2 separate regions of the Homo sapiens genome follow, and region 1 is linked to region 2. Evidence: promoter capture Hi-C in human tissues and cell types (Jung and others, 2019). All regions are on one chromosome and are shown on one strand. Each heading gives the region's core, a stretch centred on a gene start or on the middle of the fragment in contact. The rest is flanking DNA. Distances are from core to core; before and after follow the strand shown. Region 1 overlaps LIMK1 (LIM domain kinase 1). Region 2 holds the start of MLXIPL (MLX interacting protein like).

Region 1 (6,191 bases), core at 1,479-3,978, 500 kb after region 2:
TCAAAAAGAAAAAAAAAAAAACCTTCCTGTAATCCCAGCACTTTGGGAGGCTGAGGTGGGCGGATCACGAGGTCAAGAGATTGAGACCATCCTGGTCAACATGATGAAACCCCATCTCTACTAAAAATACAAAAAAATTAGCTGGGCGTGGTTGCACGCGTCTGTAGTCCCAGCTACCCGGGAGGCTGAGGCAGGAGAATGATGTGAACCCAGGAGGCGGAGCTTGCAGTGAGCCGAGATCGCACCACTGTACTCCAGCCTGACGACAGAGTGGGACTCTGTGTCAAACACACACACACACACACACACACACACACACACACACACACACACACAGAGTTAACATAGCCCGCAAAGAAGACTATAAAACAGTCTTAGTGGCCGGGCGCAGTGGTTCACGCTTGTAATCCCAGCACTTTGGGAGGCCGAGGCAGGTGGATCATGAGGTCAGGAGTTTGAGACCAGCCTGGCCAACACAGTGAAACCCCATCTCTACTAAAAATACAAAAATTAGCTGGACATGGTTTCGGGCGCCCGTAATCCCAGCTACTCAGGAGGCTGAGGCAGGAGAGTTGCTTGAACCCAGGAGGCAGAGGCAGGAGAGTTGCTTGAACCCAGGAGGCAGAGGTTGCAGTGGGCGACAGAGCAAGACTCTGTCTCAAAAAACAAAAAAGTCTTAGTGTTTCCTATGTTTAGGGATTAGTGTGAGGATTAAAGGTTGTAAACTCATTTCCACCTAGTTGGCATTCAGTAAATGAGAATTGACATTTAGTACTAATTGTTTCGGGTATTTTGTTTTTTGTTTTTTGTTTTTTGTTTTTTCTGAGACCGAGTCTTGCTCTGTCATCCAGGCTAGAATGCATGGTGCGATCTCGGCTCACTGCAAGCTCCGCCTCCCGGGTTCACACCATTCTCCTGCCTCAGCCTCCCACGTAGCTGGGACTACAGGCGCCCGCCACCACGCCTGGCTAATTTTTTGTATTTTTAGTAGAGACGGGGTTTCACCATGATCTCGATCTCCTGACCTCGTGATCCACCCGCCTCAGCCTCCCAAAGTGCTGGGATTACAGGTGTGAGCCACCGTGCCCGGCCAGTTTTTTGTTTTTGAGATGGAGTCTTGCATTGTCACCCAGGCTGGAGTACAGTGGCGTGATCTCGGCTCACTGCAACCTCCACCTCCTGGGTTCAAGTGATTCTCCTGCCTCAGTTTCCCTAGTAGCTGGGATTACAGGCACCTGCCACCATGCCTGGCTAATTTTTCTATTTTTAGTAGAGATGGGGTTTCACCATGTTGGCCAGGCTGATCTTGAACTCCTGACCTCAGGTGATCCACCCGCCTCGGCCTCCCAAAGTGCTGGGATTACAGGTGTGAACCACTGTGCCCGGCCATGTACCGATTATTTTTAACATCATTAAGTAGCTGGTATCATTCCCATTTTACAATAAGGAAACTGAGGCTCAGAGAGTCTGTGTCAGTTTCCTGAGGTTGCTGTAATAAATTGTTAGAAACTTGATTATTTAAAACAGCAGAAAATGGTCAGGCACAGTGGCTCACACCTGTAATCCCAGCACTTTGGGAGGCCGAGGCGGGCAGATCACTGGAGGTCAGGAGTTCGAGACCAGCCTGGCCAACATGGTGAAACACCATCTCTACTAAAAGTACAAAAATTAGCTGGGCATGGTGGCAGGCGCCTGTAATCCCAGCTACTCGGGAAATTGAGGCAGGAGAATCGCTTGAACCCAGGAGGCAGAGGTTGCAGTGAGCCACAATCGTACCACTGCACTCTTGCCTGGACAACAAAGCAAGACTCCATCTCAAGATAAAATAAACAGCAGAAATTTATTCCCTCTTAGTTTTGGAAGCCAGAAGGTTGAAATCCAACAGGGCTGCGCTCCCTCCAGGGCGATCTAGGGGAGAATGCATTCCTTGCCTCTTCCACCTTCTGGTTGTTTTGCATTCCTGGGCTTGTGGCCGCATCACTCCAGTCTCCACCCCTGTCTTCACAGGGCCACCTCCTCCTCTTCTGCTGTGTCTTCTCTGTGTCTCTCTCAAGAGGGCATTTGCAGTGGCATTTGGGGCCCACCCAGATCATCCAGCATCATCTCATCTCCAGATCCTTAACTTAATCCCATCTGCAAAAGACCCTTTTTCTGACCCAGTAACATTCACAGATTCCAGAGACCTGACATGGTTCCCTTTTGGGACCAGCACAGAGTTCATGACTTGTGCAAAGTCACGCAGCTGATCGGTGCCTCGAACTCCTTGTCCAGGGCTCTGCCCCTTGCTCCTCAGAGCTCCCAAAGGCTTGCTCAGACCTGGTGGGGTTGGGGGAAAGAGCCTAAGCCTGGGTTCCCATAGAGGTTGCCGGCATCTGCCTCCTGGGCCTGGACCTCCCGGCCGGGGCATCCTCCCAGCTGGCCTGGTCCCCTGCCTTTTGGCATCCCTGGCACCCCCATGTGTTCATCTGCTGACAGTCGGTCTCTTTATCCAGGCCGCAGCTATGATGAGAAGGTGGATGTGTTCTCCTTTGGGATCGTCCTGTGCGAGGTAGGTCCAGGGTTGGGTAGCAGCGGTGTTGAGGCCTGGGCTCCTCCCCACTCACCCAGGCTGCAGGCTCAGCATCTGCAGGGGCCTCATGCCAGGAAGCCTGCCCACAGCAAGGCATGGGCTGGCCCCCATGGGGTACTGCAGTCAGGCTGCAGCCAGGCCCAGTGCCACCTGCCCTCAAACCACCTGGATGGCACCCAGATGCCCAGGCTGAGGGCCCCCTGGAGTAACTGCCGGGCCTTGTACTGGACAGATCATCGGGCGGGTGAACGCAGACCCTGACTACCTGCCCCGCACCATGGACTTTGGCCTCAACGTGCGAGGATTCCTGGACCGCTACTGCCCCCCAAACTGCCCCCCGAGCTTCTTCCCCATCACCGTGCGCTGTTGCGATCTGGACCCCGAGAAGAGGTGAGTGGGGTGGGGCCCTGGCCTGGGAGACGGTGGGGCCGATTCCCGGGACAGCCAGACCCACCGTTCCCCACCCACCTGTCACCCAGGCCATCCTTTGTGAAGCTGGAACACTGGCTGGAGACCCTCCGCATGCACCTGGCCGGCCACCTGCCACTGGGCCCACAGCTGGAGCAGCTGGACAGAGGTTTCTGGGAGACCTACCGGCGCGGCGAGAGCGGACTGCCTGCCCACCCTGAGGTCCCCGACTGAGCCAGGGCCACTCAGCTGCCCCTGTCCCCACCTCTGGAGAATCCACCCCCACCAGATTCCTCCGCGGGAGGTGGCCCTCAGCTGGGACAGTGGGGACCCAGGCTTCTCCTCAGAGCCAGGCCCTGACTTGCCTTCTCCCACCCCGTGGACCGCTTCCCCTGCCTTCTCTCTGCCGTGGCCCAGAGCCGGCCCAGCTGCACACACACACCATGCTCTCGCCCTGCTGTAACCTCTGTCTTGGCAGGGCTGTCCCCTCTTGCTTCTCCTTGCATGAGCTGGAGGGCCTGTGTGAGTTACGCCCCTTTCCACACGCCGCTGCCCCAGCAACCCTGTTCACGCTCCACCTGTCTGGTCCATAGCTCCCTGGAGGCTGGGCCAGGAGGCAGCCTCCGAACCATGCCCCATATAACGCTTGGGTGCGTGGGAGGGCGCACATCAGGGCAGAGGCCAAGTTCCAGGTGTCTGTGTTCCCAGGAACCAAATGGGGAGTCTGGGGCCCGTTTTCCCCCCAGGGGGTGTCTAGGTAGCAACAGGTATCGAGGACTCTCCAAACCCCCAAAGCAGAGAGAGGGCTGATCCCATGGGGCGGAGGTCCCCAGTGGCTGAGCAAACAGCCCCTTCTCTCGCTTTGGGTCTTTTTTTTGTTTCTTTCTTAAAGCCACTTTAGTGAGAAGCAGGTACCAAGCCTCAGGGTGAAGGGGGTCCCTTGAGGGAGCGTGGAGCTGCGGTGCCCTGGCCGGCGATGGGGAGGAGCCGGCTCCGGCAGTGAGAGGATAGGCACAGTGGACCGGGCAGGTGTCCACCAGCAGCTCAGCCCCTGCAGTCATCTCAGAGCCCCTTCCCGGGCCTCTCCCCCAAGGCTCCCTGCCCCTCCTCATGCCCCTCTGTCCTCTGCGTTTTTTCTGTGTAATCTATTTTTTAAGAAGAGTTTGTATTATTTTTTCATACGGCTGCAGCAGCAGCTGCCAGGGGCTTGGGATTTTATTTTTGTGGCGGGCGGGGGTGGGAGGGCCATTTTGTCACTTTGCCTCAGTTGAGCATCTAGGAAGTATTAAAACTGTGAAGCTTTCTCAGTGCACTTTGAACCTGGAAAACAATCCCAACAGGCCCGTGGGACCATGACTTAGGGAGGTGGGACCCACCCACCCCCATCCAGGAACCGTGACGTCCAAGGAACCAAACCCAGACGCAGAACAATAAAATAAATTCCGTACTCCCCACCCAGGTCCTGCGTGGCGATGTGTGTCTGGGGCCCTGGGGAAATAGTCAAGGTAAGAGGAGTTAGTCTTCCCTGACCAGAAGACAAGGATGAGTGTGGTGGCTCATGCCTGTGATCCCAGCACTCTGGGAGGCTGAGACAGGACGATCCCTTAAGCCCAGGAGTTCAAGACCAGTCTGGACAACATAGTGAGATCCTGTCTCTACAAAAATTTTTTTTTAATTAGTTGGGCAGAGGCCAGGTGTGGTGGCTCATGCCTGTAATCCCAGCACTTTGGGAGGCAGAGGCGGGTGGATCACCTGAAGTTAGGAGTTCAAGACCAGTCTGGCCAACATGGTGAAAACTCGTCTCTACTAAAAATACAAAAATTAGCCGGGCGTGGTGGCACATGCCTGTAGTCCTAGCTACTTGGGAGACTGAGGCAGGAGAATCGCTTGAACCCGAAAGGCAGAGGTTGCAGTGAGCCGAGGTGGTGCCATTCCACTCCAGCCTGGGAAAGAGCGAGACTTTGTCTCCAAAAAAAAAAAAAAAAAAAATTGGCAGGCCAGGCACAGTGGCTCACACCTGTAATCCCAGCCCTCTGGGAGGCCGAGGCAGGAGGATCTCCTGAGGTCAGGAGTTTGAGAACAGCCTGACTGACATAGTGAAACCCCATCTCTACTAACAATACAAAATTAGCCAGGTGTGATGGCACATGCCTGAAATCCCAGCTACTTGGGGGGTTGAGGCAGGAGAATTGCTTGAACCCAGGAGGCAGAGGTTGCAGTGAGCCGAGATTGCACCATTGCACCCCAGCCTGGGCAACAAGAGCGAAACTCCATCTCAAAAAAAAAAAAAAAAATTAGTTGGGCATGGTGGCATGCACCTATAGTCCCAGCTACTCAGGAGGCTGAGGTGGGAGGATCCTTTGAGCCCAAGAGATCAAGGCTGCAGTGAGCCATGTTTGCACCACTGCACTCCAGCCTGGGCAACAAAACAAGACTCTGTCTCAAAAAAAAAAAAAAAAAAAAAAAGGCAGGGATGGAGGGGGGAAGAGAACACAGCCCAGTTTTAGGTGGAGCTGAGGTGGTGGCCCAGCCAGGACAAGTGAAGAGTCTTCAGAGGCTGGGTTTGGAGGGCCGTGCATATTCCGGAGGTACTGCTTTCATACTTAAATGTTTTCTTGTAAAACTCACACCTGTAATCCCAGCACTTTGGGAGGCCAAGGTGGGCGGATCATCTGAGGTCGGGGGTTCAAGACCAACCTGACCAACATGGAGAAACCCCGTCTACTAAAAATACAAAAAATTAGCCAGGTGTGGTGACACATGCCTGTAATCCCAGCTACTCGGGAGGCTGAGGTAGGAGAATTGCTTGAACCTGGGAGGCGGAAGTTGTGGTGAGCTGAGATCGTGCCATTACACTTCAGCCTGGGCAACAAGAGCAAAACTCCATCTCAAACAAAACTAAACTAAACTAAACTAAAGGGTTCTATCGAGAAGATGGGCTGCACGTGATGGCTCACACCTAGACTCCCAGCGCTTCAGGAGGCCGAGGTGGAAGGATCACTTGAGGCCAGGAGTTCAAGATCTGCCTGGGCAACATAGCAAGACCCTGTTTTTACCCAAAAAATAAAAAAATTACCCAGATGCTGTGGTGTGTGCCTGTAGTACCAGCTACTGAGAGGCTGAGGCAGGAGGACCGCTTGAGCCTGGGAGGTCAAGGCTGCAGTGAGCTGTGATCGTGCCACTGCACTCCAGCCTGGGTGACACAGCAAGACCT
Region 2 (5,880 bases), core at 1,225-3,724:
CAAGGTCTCACTCTATCACCCAGGGTGGAGTGCAGTGGCACCATCATGTCTTACTGGAGCCTCAACCTCCTGGGCTGAAGTGATCCTCCCACCTCAGACTCCCCAGTAGCTGGTACTAGGAATGTGCCATCACACCTGGCTGATTAAAGAAAATTTTTTTTGGCCAGGCATGTTGGCTCATGCCTGTAATCCCAGCACTTGGGGAGGCCAAGGCAGGTGGATCACCTGAGGTCAGGAGTTTGAGACCAGCCTGGCCAACATGGTGAAATCTCGTCTCTACTAAAAATACAAAAAATTAGCTGGAGGTGGTGGGCGCCTGTAATCCCAGCTACTCAGGAGGCTGAGGCAGGAGATTCTCTTGAACCCGGAAGGCAGAGGTTGCAGTGAGCTGAGATGGCACCACTGCACTCCAGCCTGGGCAACAAGAGCAAAACTCTGTCTCAAAAAAAAAAAAAAATTTTTTTTTTTTTGGTAGAGACAGGTTCTCAGTATGTTGCCCAGGCTGGTCTCCAACTCCTGGGCTCAAGCAATCCTTGGATGAGAACCTTGGCCTCCTAAAGTGCTGGGCTTACAGGCAGGAGCCACTGTGCCCAGCCAGAGATTTACTATTAATATTTGGGTATTTGGGAAGAAAACACAGTCCTCTCTACCCCAGCTATCTCTGACTGGGGTTACATCAGCCTTGAGTCAGCCTCTGGGTGGGGGGGCAATTTTGGGGGTGCGCTCTGTCCCTTACCTTGCCAGCTCCCCAGAACCTCTCCTCTTTGGTCACCCATCGTCAGGGTTGGAAGTGAGGCCCCCTCCCAAATAGAGTGATGTGTAGTATATAATGAGCAGCCAAAGTTGGGGTTGGGTGGGAAATGGGAGACCCTTAGGAGGAGGAGTGCCGGCATCCGGTGTACCAGGACCTTAGATGCCCTGTCCCAGGCAGTCGCGTGACATTTGGGGAGGGAGGGAGAAGGGACGGGAATTTGAACTTTCCACACGGGTCCGACGCCCTGGCCGATCGGGTTGCAACATGACCTGGGCCAGGGGCCAGAGCTTGTGGGCCAAGGTTACTCCGCCTCCAGCCAATGGGGTCGCAGCTGGGCGGCTGCGGTTGGGGGCAGGCAACACTCCCCTCACAGTCCCCACCCCAGCTCCTGCTCCCCCGCAGGGCGGCAGGTGCCGATCTGTAGCCAGCGGTTCTCAGAAGGGGAGGAGGCGCCGCGGAGGAAGAGGAATATTTGCACAGAGAAAAGATCAAGGCCGGCCGATCCCCCTTTCTCCCCTACGGGTTTTCGGTTGATAATTTATACTGGCCCCTCAACTCCGGGGAACTTTGCTCCAGGGCACTGGGCCAGGCCTCGGGTTCGCGCCCTCCTCTGGGACGCGGGGCGTGGAGCGGCAGCGGGGCGCGGCCTGTGCGCTCTCGGTGGCACTAAGCGGGGGTCCCAGGCAGCGACGGGCGCTCAGCCTAGTGTGGCGACGTGGGTAGGCGAACCCAGGCCTCCCGGGCACCGGCGTAACCTCTGCGAGCTGCGCCTCTTGGACATTTCTGGGACATCCTCCTCCCGCCACCCTTAATGTAGCAGATCAAGAAGAGGTGTCTCAGCAATTGCGGGGAGGTGGACGTGAGAGTGGGCCAGTTCCAGTCCACTTTGGTTATGAACTGGGACAATCAGGGGCGCTGGGAGTATCTCAGGGTCCAGGAATAGGGCGGGCTTGGGCCGGGGCTGCTGGGGAGAAGGCCGAGGCCTGCAGGGGGTCGGGTGGAGTGGCTCCAGAGTGGAGAGTGGGGATGGGCGCGGGTGGCCTAGGGACCAGGGGCGCCTGGCATTTTTGTAGGGACGGAGGGGCTGGGACCAGAGAGAGGGGACCAGAGGTCCAGGTAGAGGTGGGGCGCAGGCGGTCTGCGCTTCGGGGAAGAGGGAATGGGGGAGGAATGGGAATCAGAAATGCGTGGGTCCGTCAGGGGCCAGCGGGCTGGGCCGCTGTAGGAGGACCTCGGGGCTGGGAGAAAGGGGGTGTCCAGGGCGTGATCGGAGCCTCCGGGAGCCGCAGGACCGGGCTCGGGTGGGGTGTTGAGGGCCCCAGCGCGCAGTCCTGCCCCGGACCCCCCCCCCATCCCCACCTGGAAGCCAAGGCCGTCAGGGCCCGGAACCGCCCTCACCTGTAGGCCAGGCTCAAGCACTCGAAGAGGCGTGTGAGTGTGGGGTCGATACTGCGCGGCCCGAAGTCGGAGGGCCCCACGGACCCCTCCTGGTCGCGCCGCCGGGGCAGCGAGTCGCTGTGCGGCGACGACACCATGAAGTGACCGCTGTGGATGACCTGCGAGCGGAGCAAGCCGCCCGCGCTGCGCCGGAGACTCGGGTCCTCCGAGTCTGTGTCCGAGTCCGAGTCTGGGCTGGGCGCGACCCGCGGGACCTGCAAGCCCGCGGCCAGACCTGCCAGCGCGCCGGCCATGGCTGTCGCCGCCGCAACCGCCTGGTCCCTGCTCCGCGCAGCGCGGGGAACAGCTCTTGGCCAGCCGGGCCTCATTAACATAGCCCCGCCCCCACACCATAGGCCGATCGGGTGGGCGGGGCCTGGGACGGGGCGGGGCTTGTATTAGCATAATCCTTACGCCAGGTGAGAACCCGGTGCTCTGGAGCTCTGGCGGGTTGGCCCCATCTCCCTTCCCGTCTTTCCTTGGAGTCCTGATAGAGCCGCCCCTACTTTGCTCCAAAGGGATATTAAGAAAGGTCAGGCCGGACGCCAGGGGCTCTTGCCTGTAATCCTAGCACTTTAGGAGGCCAAGGCGGGAGGATGGCTTGAGGTCAGGAGTTCGAGACCAGCCTGAGCAATATGGCAAGACCCCCATCTCTACCAAAAAAATGCAAAAATTAGCCGGACATAGTGGAGAAAGCCTGTAATACCAGCTACTGGGGAGGCTGAGGTGGGAGGATTCCTTGAGCCCAGGAGTTCGACAATATGGCAAAACCCTGTCTCTACCAAACATACAAAAATTATCCAGGCATGGTGGCGTGTGCATGTAGTCCTAGCTACTCCGAAGGCTGAAGTGGGAGAATCGCTTGAGACCAAGAGGTTGAGGCTGCAGTGAGCGGAGATCGCGCCACTGCACTCCAGCCTGGATGACAGAGTGAGACCCTGTCTCCACAACAAAAGGGTCCCCTATCACACCTGAGCCTGAAAGCGCCTCAGGACCTGGGGTTTGTTCTTTCAGGGGCACCCTCCTGTGAGGCCAGAGATCACCATCTCCCCTCACCTAACTCCTGCCCTTCACCTCCAACCCCCGCCCCCCATATTAGCTCTTCTGGGTCCTCCACATAGGTAGAAGCCCCCAACTCTCAGGGGCCTGATGTGGTAAGCCCAAGGTAATGCCCCTGAAGGGCCTGGCCCACAGGAGGTTGCTAACACCTCTAGTTAACATGGTGGCCAACACGGTGGCCGGGCGCGGTGGCTCTCGCCTTCAATCCTAGCACTTTGGGAGGCCATGGTGGGTGGGTCACTTGAGGCCAGGAGTTCGAAACCAGCCTGGCTAACATGGAGAAACCCCTTCTCTACTAAAAATACAAAAATTACCGGATGTGACGATGCGTGCTTGGCTTATAATCCCAGCTACTCGGGAGGCTGAGGTGGAAGAATCACATGAGCCCAAGAGGTGGAGGTTGCAGTGAGCCGAGATCGCGCCCTACTGCACTCCACCCTGGGCAACAGTGAAATCCTGTTTCAAAAACAAAATAAAATACTTAAGAAAAAATATATATTAAAAAAATTGTGATCATTACTTCACCTGCACAGAGAGGCCCAAGGGGAGCCTCGAGGGACTGTTACTGGTAGGGATGGGTGGCTCACTGGAAGGTGGACATCCCCTAGGCAGGCATCTACCCAGGAGCTCTGAGCCCCTTCTCTCACTGACACTGAGGTCCAGCTTTTGTTCCTGCTTCTTTGTATTTTTATTTATCTATATACTTCTATTTATTTATTGTTTTGAGACGGAGGCTCACTCTGTCACCCAGGCTGGAGTGCAATGGCACGATCTCGGCTCACTGCAACCTCTGCCTCCCTGGTTCAAGCGATTCTCCTGCCTTAGCCTCCTGAGTAGCCGGGATTACAAGTGCCCGCCACCATGCCCAGCTAATTTTTGTATTTTTAGTAGAGACGAGGTTTCTCCATGCTGGCCAGGCTGGTCTCAAACTCCTGACCTTAAAGCGATTTGCCCACCTCAGCCTCTCAAAGTGCTGGGATTCCAGGCATGCGCCACCGTGCCCAGCCTATTTATATATTTTTAGAGACAGGGTCTCGCTCTGTCACCCAGGCTGGAGTGCAGAGGCACGGTCATAGCTCACTGCAGCCTCAAACTCCTGGGCCAAAGCGATCCTCCCACCTCAGCCTCCCTAGTAGCTGGGACTACAGGCTCATGCCACCAAACCTGGCTAATTTTTTTTTTTTTGTAGAGATGAAATCTGCTTCAGCCTCCCAAAGTTTTGGGATTACAAGTGTGAGCCACTGTACATGGCCTTTCTGCTTCTGAAGCCTCTTTTCTCACCTTGAGGACAGAAACCAGACTGAGGCATTCACACCTGACACCTCACTGGAGCGTTTAACTAACAGCCTCAAAGATGGGTTCAGAGGCACAGGAGAGCAAAAACACACCCAAGCATCTCTGAGGGGCAGCAGCAAAGCCTGGTCTAGTAGATTTCCAGATTTCCCCCAAGGATGTCCCTAGTGGGTGGGGACAGGAAAGAGTTGTAGGCACATGCTAAGCTCTGCTGGCTTTCTGACAGGTATCCTGTGTGTGGTCATGTTAGGGAAAGCGGAGGAGGTGGTTTCCCATGTGTGGCAGCCTTGGAAAAGGTTGACATGCAGCACTTTCTTCCAGCCCACAGGAGGATCACACAGCACCTAGGATCACAATGGCAGTGCCCTGAGGGCCCCAGCCACTGGCTGTGGGAGGAAAGTGATTATCCAAGGCTGCTCACAGGCCAGCCCTTCCACCCACCTCCCTTGGCCGGGTATCTTCTGTCTCTGCCAAATGTTCGCATCACATTCCCAGGAGCCCCAGCTGTTCTGCTCCATCCTCCCTGCTGCCCTCTGTAGGATGTGCATTCTCTCTGCCCATCCCTGCCAGGTTAGGAAAGGGGGTTCTGATGCTCACCCCACTCTCCCTCCTTTGGAGGGGCTCTGCCCTGCTTCAGAGAGCCATCCCCAAGTGGCCCTCTTTTTTTTTTTTTTTTTTGAGCCAGTCTCAGTCTGTCACCCAGACTGGAGTGCAGTGGCATGATCTCAGCTCACTGCAACCTCCGCCTCCCGGGCTCAAGCGATTCTCCTGCCTCAGCCTCCCAAGTAGCCGGGATTACAGGCGTGTAACACCATGCCCGACTAATTTTTGTATTTTTAGTAGAGATGGGGTTTCACCATGTTGGCCAGGCTGGTCTTGAACTCCTGACCACAAGTGATCCACCTGCCTCAGCCTCCCAAAGTGCTGGTATTACAGGCGTGAGCCACCGTGGCCAGCTCTCAGGTGGCAGTTAACCGTCTTTTGAGGCCCTTGGTACAGAGGCTGACAGGATCATTACTTACCCCTATATGCCTGTCTGGCTTCTCCCCCTATTCCTCCGTAGGCCATTGAGGCAAGACTGTGTCCTAGCATCTCTGAACCCCCACACTGGGTACCTGGAGACTTGGGGGATGCTTGAAGAAAGGGGCATGAGACTAAGAGGAGCGGGTGGGGTGCTGTGGAGGAGGTTGGATAGGAAGTGTCAGCTCCGCCCTCGCCTCTGGCTTGGGACCTCCTGGCTCCGGGGACCCTGGCTCAGGTGAAGACCGGAATTGATCCTTGCTCTGCTGCTAATTCCATGAGTAACACTGGGGAGATCTCTGTCTCTCTGTCTTACT

The links. Contacts are between HindIII fragments. The study calls those that stand out against the background at their distance.
Region 1: a fragment that was not itself captured here is called in contact with the fragment with the promoter of MLXIPL in region 2 in 1 of the 25 tissues and cell types used here (dorsolateral prefrontal cortex).

The regions. Positions count from the first base shown.
Region 1 is chr7:74,118,091-74,124,281 of GRCh38, forward strand. LIMK1 (LIM domain kinase 1) reads left to right here. Exons shown (of 16, transcript NM_002314.4): 14 at 2,493-2,548; 15 at 2,802-2,959; 16 at 3,049-4,435. The coding sequence ends at 3,211. Among named protein-coding and RNA genes, the nearest start is that of LIMK1, 37 kb to the left of the region's middle. The HindIII fragment of the contact is 7,492 bases long and covers 1-6,191 here.
Region 2 is chr7:73,622,048-73,627,927 of GRCh38, forward strand. It overlaps MLXIPL (MLX interacting protein like), which reads right to left and starts at 2,475. Exons shown (of 17, transcript NM_032951.3): 1 at 2,153-2,475. The coding sequence starts at 2,445. The HindIII fragment of the contact is 21,137 bases long and covers 1-5,880 here.